Regions from separate parts of the Homo sapiens genome. Here all the other regions are linked to region 3. The links are contacts of gene promoters, found by promoter capture Hi-C in human tissues and cell types (Jung and others, 2019). All regions are on one chromosome and are shown on one strand. The core of a region is centred on a gene start or on the middle of the fragment in contact, and the rest is flanking DNA. Distances in the headings are between cores, read along the strand shown.

Region 1 (3,548 bases), core at 562-3,061, 240 kb after region 3:
AAAATTTTAGATAAAGAACAGAATCTGTGAGCAAGATTTCACTGAGTGAGTTTTGAAAAAAATCCAAATGGGTCATTTGGAGCAAAATAACTAACAAGGATTCTGATGCCAAGTAAGGGCAGGCAAGCAAGGCTTGTGCGGATCGTCCTTGTCTCCTCTTTTCTCCTCTCCTTTGTTAAAAACAGGTATCAGGCTGGGCCGGGCACGGTGGCTCATGCCTGTAATCCCAGCACTTTGGGAGGCTGAGGCAGGTGGATCACCTGAGGTCAGAGATCGAGATCATCCTGGCTAACACGGTGAAACCCCGTCTCTACTAAAAGTACAAAAAAATTAGCCAGACTTGGTGGCGGGCGCCTGTAGTCCCAGCTACTTGGGAGGTTGAGGCAGGAGAATGGCCTGAACCCGGGAGGCGGAGCTTGCAGTGAGCCGAGATCGCACCACTGCACTCCAGCCTGGGCGACAGAGCGAGACTCCGTCTCAAAAACAAAAACAAACAAACAAACAAACAAACAAACAAAAAACAGGTATCAGGCTGGGCGCCGTGACTCACGCCTGTAATCCCAGCACTTTGGGAGGCCGAGGCAGGTCGATCACTTGAGTCAGGAGTTGAAGACCAGCCTGGACAACATGGTGAAACCCCATCTCTACTAAAAATATAAAAATTAGCTGAGCATGGCGTTGCCTGCCTGTAGTCCCAGCTACATGGGAGGCTGAGGCATGAGAATCACTTGAACCTGGGAGGTGGAGGTTGCAGTGAGCTGAGATCGCGCCACTGCACTCCAGCCTGGGTGACAGAGCAAGACTTCATCTGAAAAAAAAGGTGACCGGACACAGTGGCTCATGCCTGCAATCCCAGCACTTTGGGAAGCCGAGATGGGTGGATAGCCTGAGGTCAGGAGTTCAAGACCAGCCTGGCCAACATGGTGAAATCCCATCTCTACTAAAATACAAAAATTAGCCAGGTGTGGTGGCGGGTGTCTGTAATCCCAGCTGCTCAGGAGGCTGAGGCAGGAGAATTGCTTGAACCTAGGAGGTGGAGGTTGCAGTGAGCCAAGATTATGTCACTGCACTCCAGCCTGGGCAACAGAGTGAGACTCCATCTCAAAAAGAAAAGGAAAAAAAAAGGGGAGGGGGTTATCAAGCAGTGCATAGGATCTAAAATTTGATTTCCTTAAGTTCAAATTCTGGATCTATGACTTATTAGCTGGGTGGCCTTAAGAAATTTACTTAACCTCTCTGAACCACACTTTCCTCATCTGTAAAAGAGGGGCAATGAAATAGATCTCACATAAGGACTAAATGAGATCGTCTGTGGAGAGCAAGCACTCAGTCAGGGGCAGCGGTGTTGCTAACGAGACAGTGCAACCCAAAAAAGAAAACCATCATCTCAGTTTACTCAGCTTCTGCTTGCCACTGACGGTGCCGGCCACCACTTTCTGAAGGGCGTCTCTGCCTCATCCATGCAGATAAGATTGTGTTCATGGCCGGGCGTGGTTGCTCACACCTGTAATCCCAGCACTTTGGGAGGCCTAGGCAGGTGGATCACTTGAACCTAGGAGTTTGATACCAGCCCGGGCAACATAGCGAGATCCTGTCTCTACAGAAAATAAAAATTAGCCAAGCATAGTGGCGTGTACCTGTAGTCCCAGCTACTCAGAAGGCTGAGGTGGAAGGATTGCTTGAGCCTGGAAGTTTGAGGCTGCAATGAGCTGTGATTGCATCACTCCACTCCAGCCTGGGCGACAAACCGAGAACTTGTCTCAAAAAAAAGAGAATGTGTTCATGATTTAGTGCACTTACAAAGCATGGCCAGGTCACAGAACCAACTGATGTAGAACTCTGAATTTTCACACCAACACTGACACTTTCTGGAACTTTTCTTTTTTTTGAGACTACAGGTGTACACCACCACACCCGGCTAATTTTTGTAGTTTTTGTAGAGATGGGGTTTCGCCACGTTGTCCAGGCTGGTCTTGAACTCCTGAGCTCAAGGGATCCACTTGCCTCAGCTTCTCAGAGTGCTGGGATTACAGGTGTGAGCCACGCACCTGGCCTCTTTGGAACATTTAAAAAAGCTTATTATTACAATTATTATAATTGTTTTGGCAAAAATATTCGAACACACCTAAAAGTAGAGTGAATAGTACTACGGACCCTCATAGGCCATTATCCAGATTCAGTAATTAAGATTTTGCAACACTTACTTCAGAGAGTCTCCTCTCCTTACCCCACCTTTATATTTTAAAGCATATCACACTGTAGGATGACTATAGTTAATCAAAACATGTTATATGGTTTCAAATAGTTAGAAGGAAGATACTGAATATTCCCAGTGCAAAGAATGATACAAAGATGATGGACATGACTAACTACCCTGATCTGATCACTATACATTATATGTATCACAACATCACTATGTACCGCATAAATGTGCTCAATTATTATTTTAAAAGTTTTTAAAAAGTGTATCATATAATTTAAAAAGTTTTTTAAAAATGCATCATTGGGCTGGGTGTGGTGGCTCATGCCTGTAATCCCAGCACTTTGGGAGGCTGAGGCGGGTGGATCACCTGAGGTCAGGAGTTCAAGACCAGCCTGGCCAACATGGTGAAACCCTGTCTCTACTAAAAATACAAAAAATTTAGCCAGGCCTGGTGGCAGATGCCTGTAACCCCAGCTACTCGGGAGACTGAGGTAGGAGAATCACTTGAACCCGGAAGGCGGAGGTTGCAGTGACCCGAGATTGCACCACTGCACTCCAGTCTGGGGAACAAGAGTGAAACTCCGTCTCAAAAAAAAAAAAAAAAAAAAAAAGCATCCTTGACTTCGTGTCATTTTACCCTATACACTTAGTATTCATCAATGTTTTTAAAGTTTATTAAAGAAAACTCCCACACAATGCCATTATCTTGTCCAACAAAACAAACAATGTTTCCTTGATATCATCTACTACCCAAAGGTCCTCAGCATCTCAAAAATGCCTGCTTTACCCTGGATTTGATGGAATCAGGATCCAAGCAAGATCTGCCCCACTGCATTTGGTTGTCAAATGAAACCCTTTTCTATAAGAACTCTCAGCAGGCAACTGTTGAATTTCTAAACTCTTCAGTTTCTCTGGCTCACAAGCACAGAACACAAACAAACAAACAAAATCCCAACCTATTTTTCAAACTTGTTATTCAAGGGGAAGAGTGTCAAGCTAGAGGCCCTGCAAGCAGCAGAAGGGGCGGTTAAGAAGTGTGTTGGGAGAGATTGTGTTCCTTCGCAGCATGGTGAGCCTCCCAGACTGGATCCAACCTCGTATCCAGGTGTTGGGCCTCAATCCCACTTGAGCCGTTGTTTATCGCCCTCCCGTGGATTAATCCCCTGTCAGTTAGGCCAGAGAAGCTCTGGAGAAGGCCTGCGTAGCATCCCATGTGTCAAGGCCCCCTTTGATACACTTTATCTGCCCTTATCCCTTCAGACGCGCCATGACTCCTCTGCTGGTCATGGCCTCGGAGCTTTAGAATCTCTGCACAGTGACTGACATCCCTCCTATGGAGGAAAGG
Region 2 (3,430 bases), core at 460-2,959, 180 kb after region 3:
AAATTGAGATTGCCCTGGTGGGCTCACATCCAAGGGAACATGGGTGTGTGTGTGTGTGTGTGTGTGTGTGTGTGTACATGCTTACATATCTAACATTAATATAAAAGACATTTTATTCCAGTGTATTCTGATTTGGTTAGTAGTTAGTAGTTTCCTTTGGCAATCTTACACTAGTGAGCTGAACATCAAAGTGTACACATACATATACTTCTGTGTGGCCATATTAATTTATAAGATAACAATTTTAAAATTATATATAGTGAAGCCAATTATATTTGGGCATTTAGCATGTGATAAAAATTGCCTTTTAAAATGAGTAGGGGGTGGCCGGGCACGGTGGCTGACGCCTGTAATTCCAGCACTTTGGGAGGCCGAGGCGGGTGGATCACTTGAGGTCAGGAGTTCAAGACCAGCCAGACCAATATAGTGAAACCCTGTCTCTACTAAAAATACAAAAATTAGCCGGGTGTGCCAGCAGGCACCTGTAATCCCAGCTACTCAGGAGGCTGAGGCAGCAGAATCGCTTGAACCTGGGAGGCAGAGTTTGCAGTGAGCTGAGATCACGCCATTGCACTCCAGCCTGGGCGAAAAAGCTAGACTCTGTCTCTAAAACAAACAAACAAAAGTGAGTAAGGGGGAAAGATGAATTATACCATAAATGGTATTGGGATAACTTAGTGGCTGTCTAGAAAAACTATAAACTTAGAGCTACATTTCAAAGCATACCCAAGGATGAATTTCAAAAGGATAAAAAATTTCATTGCAAACAAACAAATTATAAAAGCACTAGAAGAAGCTATCAGAATGTTAAAATAATCTTGAAGAGGGGGAGATCGTTTTTACTAAGACACATAAATCAGAAGCTATAAAATTAAAACACTTGCATGGCAAAAACTATAATAAGTAAAGTGAAAAGACAAGACACTTGGAAAAAAATAATTGCAGCTTATATTACTAAGTATTAATTTCCCTATATATAAAGAGTTTCTAAAAATCAATCAGAAAAAGGCCAAGAGTCTGCCAGAAAAACTGAAACAAGGATATATATGATAGTTCACAGAAAAGGGAATACCAGTGGCTTTTAAACATGTGGGAAGTGATTAACCTTCCTTATAATAAGAGGTATGCAAAATAGATTATAGGGAGATACTGGTTTTGTTCACCTACTAAATGACAAATGATCAAAAACTTTGATAACATACTATGTGGGCAAGGATGTGGTAACACAGTCATTTTCATATCTATCAAAATTACAAACACATATATGTCCTTTAAACCAGTAACTGTATTTCCAAGAATTTATTGTGCAGACATACTTATACATGTACAAATATCTAATGTCTTATATGAAAAGTGTTCATCAATGCAGCATTATTTATAGTACCAAAAGATAAAACAACTGTCTGGGTGCGGTGGCGCATGCCTGTAATCCCAGCACTTTGGGAGGCCTAGGTGACTGGATCAATCACCTGAGGTCAGGAGTTCAAGACCAGCCTGGCCAACATGGTAAAACACCGTTTCTACTAAAAATACAAAAATTAGCCAGGCATGGTGGCGGGTGCCTGTAATCCCAGCTACTCGGGAGACTGAGGCAAGAGAATCGCTTGAACCCAGGAGGCAGAGGTTGCAGTGAACCAAGATCACACCACTGCACTCCAGCCTGGGCGATAGAATGAATCTCCTTGGAAAAAAAAAAAAAATCAAAGCTACAAAAATAAGCTTACTTTATGCTGTGTTTTTAACCAAATGCAAGTCATAATGACAGCCTCTGCATTAGTTCTGAGGATGTCCTTAAGAATGAATAAATATTATTTTTTCTTTTGTTTTGGGAGTTGTTTAATTTTCCCGAGAAAAATTGTAGCTCAGCATGTTAAGATAGTCTTGACTTTATATTCAACTTCGTGCTGGATCATAAAGTCAGTTTTTTTTTGTTGTTGTTTTGTTTTTGAGATGGAGTCTTGCTCTGTCGCTGAGGCTGGAGTGGATTGGCGCGATCTCGGCTCACTGCAACCTCTGCCTCCCGAGTTCAAGCCATTCTCCTACCTCAGCCTCCTGAGTAGCCTGGCTAATTTCTGTATTTTTAGTAGAGATGGGGTTTCACCATGTTGGCCAGGCTGGCCTGGAACTCCTGACCTCAGGTGATCCGCCCGCCTTGGCCTCCCAAACTGCTGGGATTACAGGCGTGAGTCACCGTGCCCGGCCGCATATGTTTTATTTTGAGGGGACAGAAGCAACTAAAATTTCAACAAAACCAATTCTTTGTGTTGCTCCCTCACTTCTTTCTATTGATCTAATAAACATCACATAGCACAGTGATGGTTGAAGACCAGTGGAAAAGAGAGAAAGTGAAAACTTAACAGGACTTCTTATTGTACGATTTTTATGTTTGCAAAGATGTGATATGAAATTTCATTTATTGCTGTCAAATATTGACATCTATCTGTGGACACAAAATAATCTTTTTTTTTCCTCCCCCACTGTCTATTTCCCTACCCAACCTTGCATTAAGAAAGCAATTGACAAACTAATGTATGGAAAGCGAATCTTTTGTGCTGTCTATAATGACCACATTTTCCTTTGGGCTCACCAAAGCCGTTCAAACAAGAGCTCCGTTGTCCCTTTCAGAAGAGAATAATAGAAAACTTAAATGAAACCTGGAGGTCATTTGACCTCTTAGGAAACGTGGAGGTAGACACCACAGCTCAAAACCCCGGAGCCTGTTAACATGTGACACATTGTACACACTCATATTTTTAGAGGAAAAGATGAGGATTTCTGCTGCCCTGGGAGGTTGTGGAATAATGCTTTCCTCATTTCAGGATTCTGAGCCTGTTTCCACATCAGAGAACCCATCAGATATATTTTATCCAAAACAAAGATAAAACTTGAGTAAAAATAATGATGATAATTATAACAGTAAGCATACCAGCAGCCACCATTTATTGAATGCTTAATATTTCATCCCCACTATGACCCTATGAGGTGGACATGATGATTGTGTCCATTCTACAGATGAACAAACTGAGGTTCAGAAAGGAAAAGCAGCTAATCCAGGAAGTCTTAAAGCTGGTGTTTAGATGTAGACTATTTTGGAAGCTTCTTTCCTAAACATTGTGTTATTCTGTTTCTTGTTTCTCTTTTTTTTTTTTTTTTTTTTTTGAGACGGAGTCTCGCCCTGTCACCCAAGCTGGAGTGCAGTGGTGTGATCTCAGCTCACTGCAAACTCCGCCTCCCGGGTTTAAGCGATTCTCTTGCCTCAGCCTCCCAAGTGGCTGGGATTACAGGCACCCACCACCCCACCTGCCTAATTTTTGTATTTTTAGTGAGACGGGGTTTCACCATATTGGCCAGGCTGGTCACAAACTCCTGACCTCAGGTGATCTGCCTGCCTCAGCCTCCCAAAGTGCTGGGATTACAGGCGTGAGCCACA
Region 3 (3,503 bases), core at 460-2,959:
AAATACAAAAACTAGTCAGGCGTGGTGTCGGGCGCCTGTAATCCCAGCTACTCGGGAGGTTGAGGCAGAGAATTGCTTGAACCCGGGAGGCGGAGGTTGCAGTGAGCCGAGATCTCGCCACAGCACTCCAGCGTGGGCAACAGAGGGAGACTCCGTCTCAATAATAATAATAATACTAATAATAATAAACGCAAAACAGAGAAGGGAGGAGTGAGGGAACTATCTTTGGGTCAGACAATCCGGAGTTCAATCTCCATTTTGCAGTCTTCCCTATAGCCCTTAACCTCCGTAACCTCCAGTTTCCTCCTCTGGGTAATATCAGTGAGGCCTCTTCTTCGGAGGATTCAGGAAGCCAGGGACAAAGACCCCACAAAATGGCCGCCAGCACCATTCTTTTTTTTTTTTTTTTTAATTCCACTGACACCTGGTGAAGCCACCCTTATGGTTCACTCCACCCGCCGCGTCTCCTGTTCCGAGCAACTGACGCTGCAATAAGCGGCCGCCACCGGGAAATGCCCAGAGAGGACCAGACGCCCGAGGAAGGGCGGAGCAGAGCGGCCGCAGGCCCCGCCCAACACCGCGCTCAGCCTCCCGCGGGCTCCAGCCTCACCTGCGCGGCCTGTGGAGCTGCACATCTCCAGGCCCCGCCCCCCAGAACTCTGATTGGCGGGTCTAGGCGGGGGCCGGGAAATCTGCATTTGCACCAGCGCCCACCCCCGTCCTTCCCACCCCCGCCCCTCACGCCCAGGTAAGTCTATGGCAGGCGATACGAGAGCCCCGCAAACCTCAACGCGTCACGCTGCCATCCTCCGAACAGGAAGACGGCGAGGCGCAAAATACCAACCCGTCCCCTCTTCCCAAATGCAGAAAAACCCTTGCCTGTTCCGCGCCTAAGCTGCCCTCGGGGTCTCCTACTGCGGGAAGGGCACAGCAGGTGGCAGCCCCTGTCCCAGCCGTGGGATTCCTTCCCCGAAATTGTGGGGGGAGAACACAAGGGGTAGTGTCACCAAGCGGCCAGTAGGAGACCCTCCCACCCTCCTGCGACTGCTGGTTCGGGTCCACCCCGGGCGGAGGGGGAAGGGGCCACCGGAGCGCAGGTGGTCTCGGCGCAGCCTCCTGGGGCTGGGACCCAGGGGCGCTGATGGGGTACCCCGAGGCGTAGGCCGCGCCCCCCTAAAAGCTGAGCATATCTGGGCTCCCGAGTAATGCTCCAAGCGCAGAGCTCGGTGTGACACTGACCAAATTGTTACCTCAGATATTAATTACGGACAGATATTAATTACGGAACAATAAAACGGTGAGAAAGCACGGCTGATCCGAATTCCGCGAGTGTGTAAACAGCACTGGGGCGGGCCCGGCTTCTCGGGGTTTCTAAAGGAAGGTGGGCAAGGAGGCCCAGGCAACCGGGCGCTCGAACCCCAAAGGGCCGGCATCAGGCTAGGTGCCGCCCGGGGCTGAAGCGCAGGGACCCCCTCCCCACCTCCCCGCCTCCCCAGCCCTGCCCCAGGCTCATGGCGCCGGGCGCGGCGCGCGGCCAACCTGTCAGGCCCGGCCAGGCTGGCCCGAGCGCCGGGCTCCGGGAGGCGCGGACAAAGGAAAACACGGGCCCAGGCCCACTCACCCGGCGCGGGGCCTGCTGTCCATCCGCTTCTTCTGGCGCACCGGCTGCAGCGGGATGTTGTCCGTCATGTCGGCGGCGCCGCCCGCCTTGGCCGCCGCGCCCCCCGCGCCGCCTGGGCCGCCGCCCGGTCCGGCCTCCGCGCCGCCGCCCGCCGGCGCCGCGCCGCCCCGGGGGAGGAGGCGGCGGCAGCGGGCGGGCCGGGCCCGCAGCGAGGGGGCGAGCTCGCGAGCGCCGGGCCACGCGCGGAGCGCCCGCGCGGCCCGACCGACGGACACGGGCGCACCATGGGCCCGAGCTCCGCGCTGCGCCCGCTCGCTCCGCGCCGCGCCGCGCCTGCCACGGGGGGCGGCCGGGCCGTGTCCGCGCCGCCGCGACCGCTGCAGTGTCCCCGCCCCCGGCCCGCGCCCGCGCCCCCCACGCGCGCCCACCCGGCCACGCGCCCCCCGCCCACGCCCGCCGTGCGCGCACCCTGCCACCGCACCCCCCGCAAAATCCCACATTCACAATCACATCCCAGCCCTATACACGCGCGCTGTGACACTCATCCCCACCAATATCTGACATGCACAATCACACGGGCACCCGGCCACGCTCACCCCATCAGTCAGTCATTCTCACTCACTCTTGCACCAACGTGCATATTCACGCCCAGGCCCTACACACACACCTGCCACTGCTCACTGCCTGCAACATCTAACATTCACAATCACATGTGAGTCCTGCACACACACATAACACTCTCACCCTCCTGTTGGTCACCATCATCCATGCACCCAGTTTCTCAAGCCTCACACCCATGTGCCTGCAGAAATCACAGTCACACAGGGACCCTCAGCTTATCAGACTCCTTCACCCTCTGACCTTCACCATCCTCACCCTCATTCTCTATCTGGATTCTGGGAACTCACCATGACACACACGCACCTGCCTCTTTCATCCAAACACCCTTCAATAGTCTGAACACCCTCATTCTCACACCAGCCACTTTCTTGGGCTTGCACATGGGCCCCACTCTCAGGCCTCAGACAGTCACCCTGCATTACCTGTCACTGTGATTCACGGTCTCACACACACACCTATCTCCACCGCAGCCCACATCCACACTCACTTCCACACCCTCCCACACAGTGTCTGGGACCCATGAACTTTTCAAAGGCCTGATAAAGTTATGAGAGCAGGAAAAAAAAAACAGAGGGAAGGAACAAAGTGAGGGAGTTTAAAAATCAATATGTAACTAAAGAGCCTGAAATTGTAATAATACCATATAAACTAATCTAAAGCTGACTTTTACATAGTTACATCTAATGACTGATCATGTTGGACGCCGTTTCTTTTTTTTCTTTTTGAAACAGAATCTCCCTCTGTCGCCCAGGCTGGAGTGCAGTGGCAAAATCTCAGCTCACTGCAATCTCTGCCTCCCAGGTTGAAGCAATTCTCCTGCCTCAGCTACCCGGGTAGCTGGGGTTATACATGTGCCTGGCTAATTTTTGTAGTTTTAGTAGAGATGGGGTTTCACCATGTTGGCCAGACTGGTCTTGAACTCCTGGCCTCATGTGATCTGTCCACCTCGGCCTCCCAAAGTGCTGGGCTCTTCCTTGGCATTTGCTAAATGCCATAGAGATTTAATTGGGATGAAGGAAGAGCATCCGGCCCAGTCCACCTTTCCAACTCTCACCAGAAGCCTTTCCCTGCTCCCACGGGCCACTGCGCTTGGCCCTTTTATTTTGTTTTATTTGTTTGTTTTTTTAAGTTAGTGCTAACTGCCAGCAAGTGGATGCCTTTTGTGTTTGCTGTCACACAGGATGGAGCCACCAAATATCCCAGTGTCTGAGGTGGATCTCAAACCAAGAAGTGTGACTTATCTCATGCACCAGAGAAGTTC

The links. Contacts are between HindIII fragments. The study calls those that stand out against the background at their distance.
Region 1: a fragment that was not itself captured here is called in contact with the fragment with the promoter of ATP9A in region 3 in 1 of the 25 tissues and cell types used here (spleen).
Region 2: a contact is called between a fragment that was not itself captured here and the fragment with the promoter of ATP9A in region 3, in 1 of the 25 tissues and cell types used here (stomach).

What each region holds. Positions count from the first base shown.
Region 1 is chr20:52,007,351-52,010,898 of GRCh38, forward strand. No RefSeq gene overlaps it. Among named protein-coding and RNA genes, the nearest start is that of LINC01429, 150 kb to the left of the region's middle. The HindIII fragment of the contact is 6,604 bases long and covers 1-3,548 here.
Region 2 is chr20:51,946,774-51,950,203 of GRCh38, forward strand. No RefSeq gene overlaps it. Among named protein-coding and RNA genes, the nearest start is that of LINC01429, 86 kb to the left of the region's middle. The HindIII fragment of the contact is 4,362 bases long and covers 1-3,430 here.
Region 3 is chr20:51,766,681-51,770,183 of GRCh38, forward strand. It overlaps ATP9A (ATPase phospholipid transporting 9A (putative)), which reads right to left and starts at 1,710. Exons shown (of 28, transcript NM_006045.3): 1 at 1,622-1,710. The coding sequence starts at 1,689. The HindIII fragment of the contact is 32,964 bases long and covers 1-3,503 here.